Regions from separate parts of the Homo sapiens genome. Here regions 1, 2, 3 and 4 are each linked to region 5. The links are contacts of gene promoters, found by promoter capture Hi-C in human tissues and cell types (Jung and others, 2019). All regions are on one chromosome and are shown on one strand. The core of a region is centred on a gene start or on the middle of the fragment in contact, and the rest is flanking DNA. Distances in the headings are between cores, read along the strand shown. Region 1 overlaps TRAPPC10 (trafficking protein particle complex subunit 10). Region 2 overlaps TRAPPC10 (trafficking protein particle complex subunit 10). Region 3 has its middle 8.0 kb from the start of LINC01679. Region 4 overlaps TRAPPC10 (trafficking protein particle complex subunit 10). Region 5 holds the start of CSTB (cystatin B).

Region 1 (3,129 bases), core at 592-3,091, 280 kb before region 5:
TGAGGCTAACAAATGCCCTCAGTTAGAATGTATAGGTTAAACGCAGCTTTTAAAGCTCCTATGATATGACCTCAAGGTTGTTAACCTGGTCATCTCATGGTAATTAGAAACTGTGATTGGCAGTTTTAGATTTCTCGATTAAAAACCTAAATAAACAGATTAAGTTCTAGGCATTCTTTCAAAGGAGTTCTCCATGAAAAGACTGAGAATTATTCTATTTGGTGCTCAGTGTAAATATTTTAATATTTTCAACTAATGTATGCACCAGTTATTGCCATTTCTTTATTAAATTCAAACGTTTTTTGCTAAATAAATCTATTTTTTAAAAAAATGTAAGATATTTAAAAAATACAGGCCAGGTGCGGTGGCTCACGCCTGTAATCCCAGCACTTTGGGAGGCTGAGGCGGGCGAATCACGAGGTTAAGAGATCGAGACCAGCCTGGCCAACAAGGTGAAACCCCAACTCTACTAAAAATAAAAAAATTGGCCAGGCGCAGTGGCTCACGCCTGTAATCCCAGCACTTTGGGAGGCTGAGGTGGGCAGATCACGAGGAGATCGAGACCATCCTGGCTAACACGGTGAAACCCCGTCTCTACTAAAAATACAAAAAAAAATTAGCCGGGCTTGGTGGCGGGCACCTGTAGTCGCAGCTACTCAGGAGGCTGAGGCAGGAGAATGGCGTGAACCCGGGAGGCGGAGGTTGCAGTGAGCCGAGATGGCGCCACTGCACTCCAGCCTGGGCTACAGAGCAAGACTCCGTCTCAAAAAATAAAATAAAATTAAATTAAATTAAAATTAAAATAAATAAATAAATTAGCTGGGCGTGGTGGTGCGCACCTGTAGTCCCAGCTATTTGGGAGGCTGAGGCAAGAGAATCGCTTGAAATCAGGAGGAGAAGGTTGCAGTGAGCCAAGATCACACCACTGCACTCCAGCCTGGCAACAAAGCAAGACTCCGTCTCAAAAAAAAAGTGTGTGTGTGTGTGTGTGTGTGTGTGTGTGTATGTATGTATGTATAGGCTGGGCATGGTGGCTCACAACTATAATCCCAGCACTTTGGGAAGCCGAGGCAAGAGGATCACTTGGGGCCAGGAGTTCGAGACCAGCCTGGCCAACATGGTGAAACCCCGTTTCTACTAAAAATATAGAAATTAGCCAGGTATGGTGGCATGCACCTGTAATCCCAGCTACTCAGGAGGCTTAGGCACGAAAATCGCTTGAACCCTGGAGGCAGAGGTTGCAGTGGGCCAAGATCACACCACTGCCCTCCAGCCTGGGGGACAGAGTGAGACACTGTCTCAAAAATAAATAAATAGATATGTTTGTATAATATGGACACATAAGGCCGGGCATGGTGGCTCACACCTGCAATCCCAGCACTTTGGGAGGCTGAGGCGGATCACGAGGTCAGGAGATCGAGACCATCCTGGCTAACATGGTGAAAACCCGTCTCTACTAAAAATACAAAACATTAGCCAGGCGTGGTGGCAGGCGCCTGTAGTCCCAGTCCCACTGCTGAGGCAGGAGAATGGCATGAATGGCATGAACCCGGGAGGCAAAGCTTGCAGTGAGCCGAGATTGTGCCACTGCACTCCAGCCTGGGCAACAGTGCAAGACTCCATTTCAAAAAAAAAAAAAAAAAAGACACATAAAATATAAGAAATAGAAGTGTTTTTTTATTTTATTTTTTTACTTAGTAAACACTTTGCTTTGGTTCTGTGTCTATACTGGCATCTCAGGAGAGTGAGATATCCAGACCTGATCTTCAGAAGCACTATGAGCCAGTATCCATCGGCGCCACTGATGAGTTCCAGAGTGAGGACAGTGCTCACAGCTAGAACTGACCGTCCCCACACTTCATCTCCCTCCAGGTTCTCCTGCTGACACCAGGGCTCCTCAAAATTACTCCTTCCTTCACACATGGTGACAAGGGTTCTCAAAAAGAACACCTGGCAGAGATGCCCACTACAGCACTGCTTGTGGTGGCAAGAAGCATAAAAGAACCCAATGTCCAACACCAGGTAATGGAATCAAGCCAGGAATACCAATTGTAACAAAAACAACTCCAAACCCCACCTGCTAACCTGGAGAGATGCCCAGGATGGGCTGTGAGTAACAAAAAGGAGCGACAGAGAAACAGCTATATAACGTGGTATCACTTTCATCAAAATAAGTATCAGCGAAAAACACTGAGGACAATAACCAATGTTTCTCTCTGTGTATGGTTTCACTGTGCTAATTCTTTAATTGTAAAGGAGCTTAAGATATTATTTAAAAGTGCAAAAGAAAGATGAACACCCAAGGGCATTTTATAAGTTCACAGCAATGAGCACTCGAGCATTCCAAAGATAACCCCTGGATGGAAGGCAAAGGGACGTCCACTCTGATTCTAACGAGGGACAGAATCGAAGCATCACCAGCAGGCCACTGAGTTGTGGAAAGGACATTTTATACCTGGAAAACAGTTTTTTTAAATTATTATTATTTTTGTTACTTAAGATTCTTCTAAAAGTGAAAATGACTAATTCTTAATTCTCATTTCATTTCCTCTAGGAATCACGAGAATATATCCGATATAATGTGTATAAAGACAACAACAAAACATGCGTACTCCTGAGGTAAATAAATGGCTGCTTCAAGCCTATCTGAAGTTGGAGAAAGCCACACTAAGAAAAGCATGCGTTACTGAAGTGCCACTACTCACCCCCGGCCCCGAAGTTGACCACATACTGAGAGAAGAGGGCGTCCAGTTCGTCGTACTGCACCAGGGCGTCCTCGAACTGCTGCAGCATCTCGAAAACAAAGGCAAGCTCCTCCTATTCGCCCAAGATACGTTTTTTAAAAAAACAAAAACATAAATCAATGTATAGAAGAAACAGTATGTAGCCATTAAACGACAGAGAAAGGCACGCAGCACTATGAATAATGTCTACGCTCCGCTAAGTAACAACCAATGTGACGACCGCATATGTCAACATTCACGCATGCACAAGAAGCTAGGAAAAGCTAAGGTAATTTCTGAACCCTCCCCGACCTATCGGCAGCACCAGATATAACTGGTCACCCCCCTGTCCTTGGGATGTTTCCTGCTGTCCAGGACCTGGCCACCTGCTCCCCTCGCCCCTCAC
Region 2 (2,700 bases), core at 109-2,608, 300 kb before region 5:
ATGCTTGTATACATTTCAATGGTGGCATGGGACAAATCCTGTGGGGAAGTAAAAACACAATTATGTACTTGAACTTTTAATGATGGACAAATACTACATTTATTCACCTAAAGCTCACACAAAAGACATTGTTGGGTTTTTGTTTTGAGACAGAGTCTTGCTCCATCGCCCAGGCTGGAGCACAGCGGTGAGATCTCAGCTCACTGCAACCTCCGCCTCATAGGTTGAAGTGATTCTTGTGCCTCAGCTTCCCAAGTAGCTGGGACTACAGGCGCCACCAGGCCCGGCTAATTTTTTGTATCTTTAGCAGAGACAGGATTTCACCATGTTGGCTAGGCTGGTCTCAAACTCCTGACCTCAAGTGATCCACCTGCCTCAGCCTCCCAAAGTGCTGAATTACAGGCGTGAGCCACCATGCCCAGCCCGCAGAAGACATTGCTAATAATGTAACATTATTTTTTCCTTTGCATCTATTTTTGTGAATTTTTCTGTAATATATAAGCAAAATTGGTAACCTGTGTATAAATTATGAAGCATAATAATAAAAGAAACCCACAAACTCATCCAAAACATCTAACTTTTCCAAGGACTTTCTGCACGTGGGTGACATGCTGGGTATTTTTCATACTTGTGTGTATAAGAGGTACAGCCATTACGGGCAGACCAAACGCTCAAGTTGCCCATGACCCGGGAATGACGCTGACCCACCACACTTCTGCCTACGCCGTTTTTTAAAGTTTTGCTAATTTAAGTCTTTCAAAATCAAATACAATAGCTCTGCCCAAGTCCAAATTACTCCTTTTTACAAAGAAAAGTATTCACTAGCCTCTCTTATAATTTCTGTGTGAGCAAACCCAATTTGAACAAAACGGTAAATATTCAAAGATGATTCCATGCCTAGCATGGTACCATGGGCACTAATACACATTTGATGAACTACTCCATGTTTTGTCCACAACTCCCCAGGTACCAAAGAAACTAAAAAAAACCAACAAGAAGGGGCCCCCCACACCAGTTCCTTCCCAACTCAACAGGCCATGTAGCAAAGCCTTCTAGAGACAGGTATTCACAGAACAGACATTGAACACTTGTTAATACTTACTAAGTAGTGTTTTTCAAAAGCTTCCACTGACGATAATGCTTCTTTCAGTTTCTTATAAGGACTCTGAGCTGTGTTGGCTTAAACAGAAAGAAACGAGAGTCCCTCTTCATCTTCATCATGTCCAGTCACATGACTTTACATTCACCTTCACATACTGCAGGTAGATGACCTCATCTGACTCTTGTGAAATTACAAACCGGCCAATGCCAACGGAAACTACATGATTATGTACATTCTCTTTCAATTCACATATTCATAAAATAGTCAAAACGCTTTGTGTCATGCTTTTTCTCTGATCTTTAGAACTAAACTTTTTTAGAAACATATATTACAAATACTCCGATGAATTAAATTACTTCCGAAGTGATCTGAAATGGTCTCAAGTTGAAACAATGAAATATAAATACTACGTATTTTTTCCCTTAAACATTTATTCAATTTACTAAGAATGTTTTCAGCTCATCAGATATTCTTTAGCAACAGTCTTGCTAAATAATACTCATCATATATTCCTACGTAAAACAATGAGTAATCCTCCTTTCAAAGAGCCTTATTATCCAGGAGAATTTTTTTTTTTTTTTGACAGAGTTTTGCTCTTGTTGCCCAGGCTGGAGTGCAATGGAGCAATCTTTGTTCACCACAACCTCCACCTCCCAGGTTCAAGCGATTCTCCTGCCTCAGCCTCCCGAATAGCTGGGATTACAGGCATGCACCACCACACCCGGCTAATTTTGTATTTTTAGTAGAGATGGGGTTTCTCCATGTTGGTCAGGCTGGTCTCGAATTCCTGACCTCAGGTGATCCGCCCACCTCGGCCTCCCAAAGTGCTGGGATTACAGGTGGGAGCCACCGTGCCCAGCCAATTTATTTTAAAAAATTTGCTGGGAGGCCAGGGCAGGAGGATCACTTTAGGCCAGGAGTTTGAGACCAGCCTGGGCAATACAGCGAGACTCCATCTCTACAAAAAATTAAAAAATTAGCCAAGTATGGTAGCACACACCTGTAGTCCCAGCTACCTGGGAGGGTGAGGCAAGAGGATCCCTTGAGCCCAGGAGGTCGAGGCTGCAGTGAGCCAAGATTGTGCCACTACACTCCAGTCTGGGCAACAGAGTGAGACCCTGTCTCTTAAAAAAAAAAAAAATCGTCAGGTCGTATTGTTAGAAAAACAGATCATCTGTAATTCAGAGAGACAGTGGTGCATTTGAACATGAGCTATAAAGTCCCTTAAGCCCAGGAGAAACTCAGCTACATTTCTGAAACTCCTTCCAATTTCTTCAACTATTTCTAATATTGCATTATGCTGTTAAAAGGTAAACTATCATGTGCTTTAATCCAGTCAGCTAACAATGGGTATAATTTTCCAAATGGTGAGTAATATGATTACTCTTAGAACTTCGGTTAAATGTGCCAACTTGCAAAGGACATTTTCATTACTGTCCACCTCACCACTCACACAGGTATATACAAAAAAGTACCTGTTTCTGGTCGCTCAGCTCCCAAACCTGCCAAAAGGTCAACTGTCCTGTTGAGATCTTCTGAGTTAGGTCCTTTCTCTGACACAAGTCCACATAGATAGCCCAAGGACTTTAACTGTTAAG
Region 3 (2,759 bases), core at 36-2,535, 410 kb after region 5:
TTATTTTGCTATGGTTAAGGGCCATGGCCTGTGACACAGTCTCAAGAGGTCCTGAGAACATGTGTCCAAGGTGGTTGGGGTGCAGCTTTGCTTTCATACATTTTAGGGTACAGAAGTTGCAGGCAAAGATATCAATCAATACATGTAAGGTATACATTGGTGTGACCCAGAAAGTGAGAGGCTTCCAGGTTATAGGTGGATTCAAAGATTTCCTGATTGGCAATTGGTTGAAAGAGCTGAGCTTTGCCTAAAAAGTTTGAGGTCAGCAGAAAGAGATGCTTGAGTTAAGACAAGGGGATCGTGGAAGCCAAGGTTTTTGTTATGTAGATGAAGCCTCCAGATAGCAGGCTTCAGAGAGACTAGATGGCAAATGTCTCTTATGGGACCTTAAAATGTGTCAGACTCTCTGTAAAAGACCTATTAAGGGCAGGGAATTCTCTACAGAATGCAAATTTCCCCCTTAAGAGACAGCTTTGCAGGGCCATTTCAAAATATGTCAGAGAAATATATTTTGGGGTAAAGTACTTTTATTTTTTTCCAGGCCTGCTATCAGTCATGTGATGCTATACTAGAGTCAGGGTGGAATTTGGTGTCTTATTGCTACAAAGAGTCTTTTCTGCCAGTCTTATGATCTCTGTTTTCATGTTAATGCTGGTCAGCTGTGCCTAAACTCCAGAGAGGGAGGAGAGTATTATGAGGCATGTCCAACCCTACCTCTTCCCATCCTGGCCTGAACTCGTTTATCAGGTTCCTTTGGGATCCCCTTGGCCAAGAGTAGGGGAGCCATTCAGGCAGTTGGGGGGCTTAGAATTCTATTTTTGGTTTACAGGGAATACTGTACTAATCCCAAAGGTGATTTCTGGAAGGATAGCTTCTGTGTGCAAATGAATCTGGGGGTTCACAGCGCACATGTGCGTATTAAAGGCCTGAGGAGTCCTGCAGGGAAACACACACAACTCTGCTCACCTTCATGTAAACTGGCATTTCTCAAACTTACTTACCCATAGACTTGTTGTTTAACGTTGCGTTTATTGGCACCTACAGGGTAAGTGTGTGTGTAGTTGCACCCAGTACGCCCTTTCTGGAGAAGCAGAAACCCCCAGGTCACATGGCTGAGGCGTGGCTGCAGCGTGTATGAGGACAGATTGCCGCTGGGGCCCCAGGGGAGGGACCACTGAGTGGGGTTCTCGGATCTGACACACCGTCCCTGCAGATGGCCCCTCAGCGACATGGTGGCCTTCTCATCACTGCTCCGCCAACGGAGGGGAACGGCCTGATGAATCATGCATGATTCATTAATCTTAATTAAAATGCAAACGTATTGCCAACCTTCTCTGATAATTAAAGCCCATTGTGGGAATATGCTTAAAGCTTCTAGGCTGACGTTTCTTTTGCTGAAGCAAAACAGATGACTCTTTTAGCTCTGAAAAGTGGTGTTGAAAGTGGTGCTGCCGGGGGGCGTGCGGCGTGGACAGACAGGTGAGATCCACAGAGAAGAGGCTCCCTGCCTCTCAGTCTCCTCTCTCTTTCTCACGCACGTGCACACACGTGTGCCCTGGGCTCACTCTTCAGCCATACACTGAGCTGTATTTTCCTCAGTGCTACCAGACCCGCAGGCTCCCAATTTGGCAAGGAAGGAAAAACTAATTATGGCTTCATGTCCTGCAAGAAAGAGCCTGCAGCGGCTCTTCAGAAACCTGCCGGTGGGTCAGAAGCACGGCCAGGCCGCCTGCAAACGCCTTGCTGGAAAAATCTCTCTCTGAGCAACTGAGCCGGGTCCTGTGTGCTGGAGGGGACACTGAGAGGCCACAGGGTGGGGAGTGGGCGGGCAGTGAGGCTGGTGACCACCGGCACAGCACCAGGCTCCCACGCAAGGGGAATCCTGGGGCTTTGGAAAAAGTCAAGTCGCAGTTTCACGCACGATCCCCACGCAGCTGTGCCAAGCAGTGCCAAGGCTGTGCTGAGATCATCGGTGTCTGCCCTGTCAGAGGGGCTCGTGCTCTGAGAGATGGAGCGAAAAGTAAACTTTGCCCACCAAGAAAACCTGGTATCCCAACAGTTGTGGAGCTGCTGTGACACCGACTGCTGGCTGCCCTGTGAGGTCCAGTCCCCGCAGGTTTCATCCAAGACCCCCATTCCAGCTGACACAGAGCATTTTAAAATAAAACCCTGTCTTTTCCTGTGTCTTGGCCAGCGGGGCTGCATTCAAGAAAGTACAGCAGCCTTTCCTGACAGCCTCCTCCACGCCTCGACCCTGCAGCCCCTGCCTCTCCCCTGCGCTCCCCCTGCCCTCCCGCCCAGGTCTGTGTTTTCTGCCAGGGCGTCCGGTTCTTTCCTTCTGCTCTCAGCTCTCATCTGCCCCTCATCTTGCCTCACAGGGCTCCAGCTCTGGGCTGACAGTGACGGTAACAGGGACGTGTGCCGATGACTCATCCCGTCCCTCACATGCGTGTGTGTCTAGCCCTTGTCTCGCTGTGCTGCCTCCATCCACATCAAGTGGCACAAATGGAAACGGGTCACCACTGTCCTTGGGATGAGCCTGGTGTCATGGCTGAGTGGTTCTGTCACCAAGTCTTTTCGTGGTTTGCCATAGAGGTGTCTTTCCAGAATCATTTTTTTTTTTATGGACTTGATTGAAATGGGTCAGATTAGCCATGCTCCTGAAATTCTGCCATCAGCCCACACACATGCACACACACATGCACACACGCACACACATGCATGCACACACAGGCAGACACATCACACACATGCACACA
Region 4 (3,043 bases), core at 57-2,556, 320 kb before region 5:
GATGTTGGTTGTTTTGTTGTTGTTGTTGTTGTTGAGGCGGAGTTTTGCTCGTTGCCCAGGCTGGAGTGCAGTGGCGCAATTTTGGCTCACTGCAACCTCCGCCTCCTGGGTTCAGGCAATTCTCCTGCCTCAGCCTCCCAAGTAGCTGGGCTTATAGGCGCCTGCCACCACGCCCAGCTAATTTTTGTATTCTTAGTAGAGATGGGGTTTCGCCATATTAGCCAGGCTGATCTTGAACTCCTGACCTCAGGTGATCCGCCTGCCTCAGCCCCCCAAAGTGCTGGGATTACAGGCGTGAGCCACTGCACCCGGCCAATGTTGGTTCTTGATTTAATTTTAGCAGAATTCATGTTGCTCTGATAGGGGCTCTTTTAAAACTGATGTCTTATCCTTCTTAGTGCCTCAAACTAGATCCTGCTCAGTGAGTAGGAGCTTATTTTGGTGCAAAAAGTGTTGAAATCCATGCATAGTTTTTTCATAACGTATCTTCCATGATTTTTTTGAAGACCCCTTGTATGTAAAGCACTTAGTACCACTCCTGGGACATGGTAGTGTCTTAATATATGGCAGGTGTTATTATTAACATTAATTATTAAAACACAACCATCATGTAATTCAATGCAATTCAAACACTTAAGTGATCATTCACTGGGACTAGCCCTGGAGATATGAAAGTAAGCAAGACAGGATCCTTGCCATCCAGTAGCAGTAGACCTGGTAAAGAGGTCACAGCTTCCCATCATGAGGATACCGAGCAACCGCCCAGGGGGAGTGAGTGACCAGAAGGCCACGAGCAGCAGAGAAGGGCTCAGGGAGGTGGACATCCTGTAGTTGGGGATGGGGGACCTTTGAGGACAGGAGCTACTACAGGACATGCAGAGGCCCTAGGAGTGTCAGGAGGAAGGCAAAGGAGTGACAGTTCTCAGAGTGTGGCTCTCAGGGCACCCGCAAGCTCATAGCTTTCACACTGCTGCCTTTCTACGCTGCTGACCTCGCGCTGCTGGGGCAACCACAATGGCATGAACTCGGGCCAGACTGCGCAGTCATGTCACTCATGTTCTTTACTACCATGAACTCACAGCAAAAAAACAAAAAAAAAAATGCCACGCTTCACAAAGCAGTCAAAAGTGCTCATTTTATTAAATTCAGCTCCTGAGTAGACTTTTTTTTAATTGTGAAATGTTTATAGACTCACAAGAAGTTGTAAAAGTAGTAGAGGGGTCACATACCTTCATCACCAGCTTCACCCAACTGTGCCATCTCGTGTAACACAGGAAGCTGACACTGGTACCATACAGTGACCCAGGCTGCAGACCCCACTGGATTTCACTACAGAGTGAACCAGGCTGCAGACCCCACTGGATTTCAATACAGATAGAACCAGGCTGCAGACCCCACTGGATTTCACTACAGAGTGGACCAGGCTGCAGACCCCACTGGATTTCAATACAGCTAGAACCAGGCTGCAGACCCCACTGGATTTCACTACAGAGTGGACCAGGCTGCAGACCCCACTGGATTTCAATACAGATAGAACCAGGCTGCAGACCACACTGGATTTCACTACAGAGTGGACCAGGCTGCAGACCCCACTGGATTTCAATACAGATAGAACCAGGCTGCAGACCCCACTGGATTTCACTACAGAGTGAACCAGGCTGCAGACCCCACTGGATTTCAGCAGCTTTCGCAGGCATTCTTTGGGTCTAATTCTATGGCATTTGTCACATGTGTAGATTCGTGTAACAACCACAGCGGCCCTGGCCCAGAACTCTCCATTACCACAGAGGACGGCCTCCTGCTGCCTCCCACTGCTCCGTGGAACACTGACCCGCTCTCCTTCTGAGGCTGGCATTTTGAGGATGTCATTTAGAAATGGAATCACACAGTACACCTCCTTATAGGACTGGCGTTTTTCTCTTAGTATAATGCCCTTGAGATCCAACCACAGCACTGCGTGTGTCAACAGTCCCTTCTGTTTCACTGCTGAGGAGGAATCAGATGTGCCAGTTTAACCGCTCTCGAGCTGAAGGACGTTTGAGTTATTTCCATTCTTGAGTGCTTGTGTTCTTGACATTCTCTGGGTCTCTGCTGCAGAATGACAGCTGGCTCAGGGAAAGCACACGGGGAGCGCTCGGTGCTGCGAGCTGAAATAGCCGCTGTTTTCACAGAACGCCCTTTTCACTTGCAAGAGCGCTGGGGAAGCTAGTTATTCAGTGTTGGGTATTTGGTAGACGTCTGATTAAAAATGAATGATGTAAGCCTGTCACTTCAAAGAAAACAACACGACTATTTGCTGCCAATGATGCCATCTGAGACTTTAAGCAAAAATCAGAATTTTGGAAAACTTACACTTGCCACTGTGAGCTTGAAAGAGTTCTGATGCTCCAAGCCCTCCCTGAGAGATCACAAATGCAGATTTTAAAAAAATATTGTCAAACGAAAGGTGCCCACATTTGGAAGATCTGCACAACTCAGGAAACCATGTTTCCCACATGACTAATGGCACAGGGTGTAACGCTATGATGCCTGGGTAAAAGAGCCATTCAAAATGCAAGATAGGCTGAGTGCAGTGCCTCACACCTGTAATCCCAACACTCTGGGAGGCCAAGGCGGGAGGACTGCTTGAGCCCATGGGTTCGAGACCACCTACCTTCATACATAAGCTTTGTCGAAAAATGCTCATCAGATTCAGTCAGTGCTTCATCTTTATCCACCTCCAAGAGGTCTGAGAGCCTCGTGATCAAAACCTCCAGGGAGCAGAGGGAGCCTGTTCTGCAATACTCCATTCCCGAAGGGGGAAAGATCTCAGCCTTCACGTTGTATAATGTCTGGGCAGGAAAGGGAGAGAATAGAAAGGAAATGTACCTAAGTGGCCTCAAGAAATGCAACTAGAGGAAAAAGCAGAGCTGCCCACAGACCCTGGAGAGCTGAGGATAGACACCTATCTGCTCGGCTGGCCTTAGAGCAACTGTCGCCACTCACTCTCAATAATTCCCACTGGAGATGCAATGTTTTCGGAAGTCCTACACTCCGAACCTTA
Region 5 (2,700 bases), core at 1-2,500:
TTCCAGCACTTTGGGAGCCCGAGGCAGGTGGATCACGAGGTCAGGAGTTCGAGACCAGCCTGGCCAATATGGTGAAACCCCGTCTCTACTAAAAACACAAAAATTAGCTGCGCATGAAGGCGCGCGCCTGTAGTCCCAGCTACTCGGGAGGCCGAGGCAGGAGAATGGTGTGAACCCCGGAGGCGGAGCTTGCAGTGAGCCGAGATTGCGCCACTGCACTCCAGCCTAGGCGACAGATCCAGACTCCGTCTCAAAAAAAAAAAAAAAAAGGCCGGGCGCAGTGGCTCACACCTGTAATCCCAGCACTTTGGGAGGCCAAGGCGGGTGGATCACAAGGTCAGGAGATCGAGACCATCCTGGCTAACACAGTGAAACCCCGTCTCTACTAAAAATACAAAAATTAGCCAGGTGTGGTGGCGGGCGCCTGTAGTCCCAGCTACTCGGGAGGCTGAGGCAGGAGAATGGCGTGAACCCGGGAGGCGGAGCCTGCAGTAAGCCGAGATCGCGCCACTGCACTCCAGCCTGGGAGACAGAGCGAGACTCCGTCTCAAAAAAAAAAAAAAAAAAAAAAAAAGAAAAGAAAAGGAAAGAAAGAAAAGAAATCCTAAAACGCAAATTCCACCAGAGAACCCTGCCTTCTTCTCATCCCTCTGATCTACCCCCTGCCCCCACCCAGCCTGGAGCGCGTGGGCGCCGTCTCCCCCTCCCTGGGCCCCTCTGTCCACCCCCTTCAGCCTTCAGTGTTCTCGGTCACAAGCGGTGATGTCCACTGCAGCCCGCACACCTGCTCCCGCGGGGCCGGGACCCCTGACCCCTGACCCCTGCAGCGCTGCGCCCCGCCCTCCCTCGTGCGCGGCCCGGACCCCGCCACCCTGCAGGATTGCGCCTACTCCGACTGCCCCTTCCCTATCGTCCCACCCTGCGCGCCCAACCCACCGGCGACACCCGGCCGCGCCCCCGCCCCGGTCCGTGTGACTCGGCGCCCGGAAAGACGATACCAGCCCCGGGAGGGGGGCGCTCCCTCCCGACACCAGCGCTGGGCGCGGAGACCCAGCCTGCGGCGAGTGGTGGCCAGGTTCCCCGCCCCGCGCCCCGCCCCGCGCCCCGCCCCGCGCGTCCCTTCTTGCGGGGCCACCGCGACCCCGCAGGGGACTCCGAAGCCAAAGTGCCTCCTCCCCGCCCCTTGGTTCCGCCCGCGCGTCACGTGACCCCAGCGCCTACTTGGGCTGAGGAGCCGCCGCGTCCCCTCGCCGAGTCCCCTCGCCAGATTCCCTCCGTCGCCGCCAAGATGATGTGCGGGGCGCCCTCCGCCACGCAGCCGGCCACCGCCGAGACCCAGCACATCGCCGACCAGGTGGGTGGGCCGCGGGGACGGGGCCGGCCCGGAGTCCTGCCTTAGCCTCAGGGCGCGGCCGCGGCTCCTGGAGCGAAAGAAGCCGCTTTGGCCCCGCTGCGCACCCCTGGGCTGGCCCGGGCTGTGGCCGTGAGAGGCCTCCCTCCGCTCGGGCGCTGCGCGCGAGTGAGCAGCGGGGGGCCGCGCCTGGGGCGCCGCTGGGGAGACATTGGGCTCCGCTGAATACAGCAAGGGCGAGTGGGAATTGATAGCCCGGAGCAGGGTGCGGTCCCTGCATGGACAGTCTCTGAGAGGAAACCCCAGGGATGAGGCGCTTCTGGTTTCAGGCAGGCAGGGTGATCGGGCGTCGCCGGCGATGGCGCAGGTGAGCAGCCGGCTCCGATCTCCACGGTGATCCGATAGCAAGCGGGTGGGAAGGGTCTGGCTAAACTGACTTAGCCAGGCTTCTTGCTAAAAGTGGATTTTACAAGGAAGTGCGCAGGTGGCCTAGGCGCTTCAGGAGCCCGACTACAGTTTGGCCAAGCAAGAATCTTTGTCAATATCCTCATCTAGTTCGGGAAAAAAATCATGAGAGAGAGTGCAAGAGGTCCCCAGTGATAAGGCACATGGGTTAAAAACTTAAGTGTATCTGCATAAAAGGTCCACAGGTTTCTTTACATGCTTCCGATTCTAGCACTGTTTCAAACTGTAAGTCTAAATAAAAAGTTAAAACACAGAAAAACAAGATAAAAACCGGGCTGGGTTGCAGATGGCAACCTTCCCTGTGTCTCGGTTTCCTCGTCTGTAAAATGGACGTCCTGTTGCTCTGCGCCTGCCAGAAGATTCTGGAGGGGCTGAAATGAGCAGGTCATCTGTGCAAGAAGCCCCCTCCGGTGGAGCACAGGCCAGGCCCGCCTCGCTGTCATGGTTGGTGACCGACGGGATGCCCCAAGCAAGAACAGGTCCAGGCGATGCTGAGGCCTGTGTTTTTTTTTTTTGTTTTTGAGACTCAGTCTCACTCTTGCCCAGGGTGGAGTGCAGTGGCACAATCTCGGCCCACTGCAACCTCCGCTTCCCAGGTTCAAGGGATTCTCCTGCCTTAGCCTCCCGAGTAGCTGGGATTGCAGGTGCTCGCCACCACGCCCAGCTAATTTTTGTATTTTTAGTAGAAACGGGGTTTTGCCATTTGGCTAGGCTGGTCTCAAACTCCTGACCTCAAGTGATCCGCCCACCTCAGCCTCCCAAAGTTCTGGGATTACATCCTTGAGCCACCGTACCCAGCTGGAACTGTTTTTTTCTACTTTATTATTAGGCTGACAGTTTAAATGTCCCTTCAGTTGTAAGAGACAATTGTGTGAAGAGCCAGT

The links. The method cuts DNA at HindIII sites, captures the fragments that hold promoters and counts their contacts. A contact is called where the count stands out against the background at its distance.
Region 1: a contact is called between a fragment that was not itself captured here and the fragment with the promoter of CSTB in region 5, in 2 of the 25 tissues and cell types used here (IMR-90 fibroblasts and mesenchymal stem cells).
Region 2: a fragment that was not itself captured here is called in contact with the fragment with the promoter of CSTB in region 5 in 1 of the 25 tissues and cell types used here (dorsolateral prefrontal cortex).
Region 3: a fragment that was not itself captured here is called in contact with the fragment with the promoter of CSTB in region 5 in 1 of the 25 tissues and cell types used here (dorsolateral prefrontal cortex).
Region 4: a fragment that was not itself captured here is called in contact with the fragment with the promoter of CSTB in region 5 in 3 of the 25 tissues and cell types used here (IMR-90 fibroblasts, dorsolateral prefrontal cortex and hippocampus).

The regions. Positions count from the first base shown.
Region 1 is chr21:44,058,791-44,061,919 of GRCh38, reverse strand. TRAPPC10 (trafficking protein particle complex subunit 10) reads right to left here. Exons shown (of 23, transcript NM_003274.5): 6 at 2,706-2,817. Among named protein-coding and RNA genes, the nearest start is that of PWP2, 47 kb to the left of the region's middle. The HindIII fragment of the contact is 7,991 bases long and covers 1-3,129 here.
Region 2 is chr21:44,075,031-44,077,730 of GRCh38, reverse strand. TRAPPC10 (trafficking protein particle complex subunit 10) reads right to left here. Exons shown (of 23, transcript NM_003274.5): 9 at 2,578-2,692; 10 at 1,103-1,179; 11 at 1-38. Among named protein-coding and RNA genes, the nearest start is that of PWP2, 31 kb to the left of the region's middle. The HindIII fragment of the contact is 7,831 bases long and covers 1-2,700 here.
Region 3 is chr21:43,368,968-43,371,726 of GRCh38, reverse strand. No RefSeq gene overlaps it. Among named protein-coding and RNA genes, the nearest start is that of LINC01679, 8.0 kb to the right of the region's middle. RefSeq lists enhancers at 1,761-2,318, 2,531-2,590, 2,319-2,759. The HindIII fragment of the contact is 5,950 bases long and covers 1-2,759 here.
Region 4 is chr21:44,098,145-44,101,187 of GRCh38, reverse strand. It overlaps TRAPPC10 (trafficking protein particle complex subunit 10), which reads right to left. Exons shown (of 23, transcript NM_003274.5): 21 at 2,654-2,831. Among named protein-coding and RNA genes, the nearest start is that of PWP2, 7.7 kb to the left of the region's middle. The HindIII fragment of the contact is 4,324 bases long and covers 1-3,043 here.
Region 5 is chr21:43,774,858-43,777,557 of GRCh38, reverse strand. It overlaps CSTB (cystatin B), which reads left to right and starts at 1,250. Exons shown (of 3, transcript NM_000100.4): 1 at 1,250-1,354. The coding sequence starts at 1,289. RefSeq lists a silencer at 672-1,671. The HindIII fragment of the contact is 5,981 bases long and covers 1-2,700 here.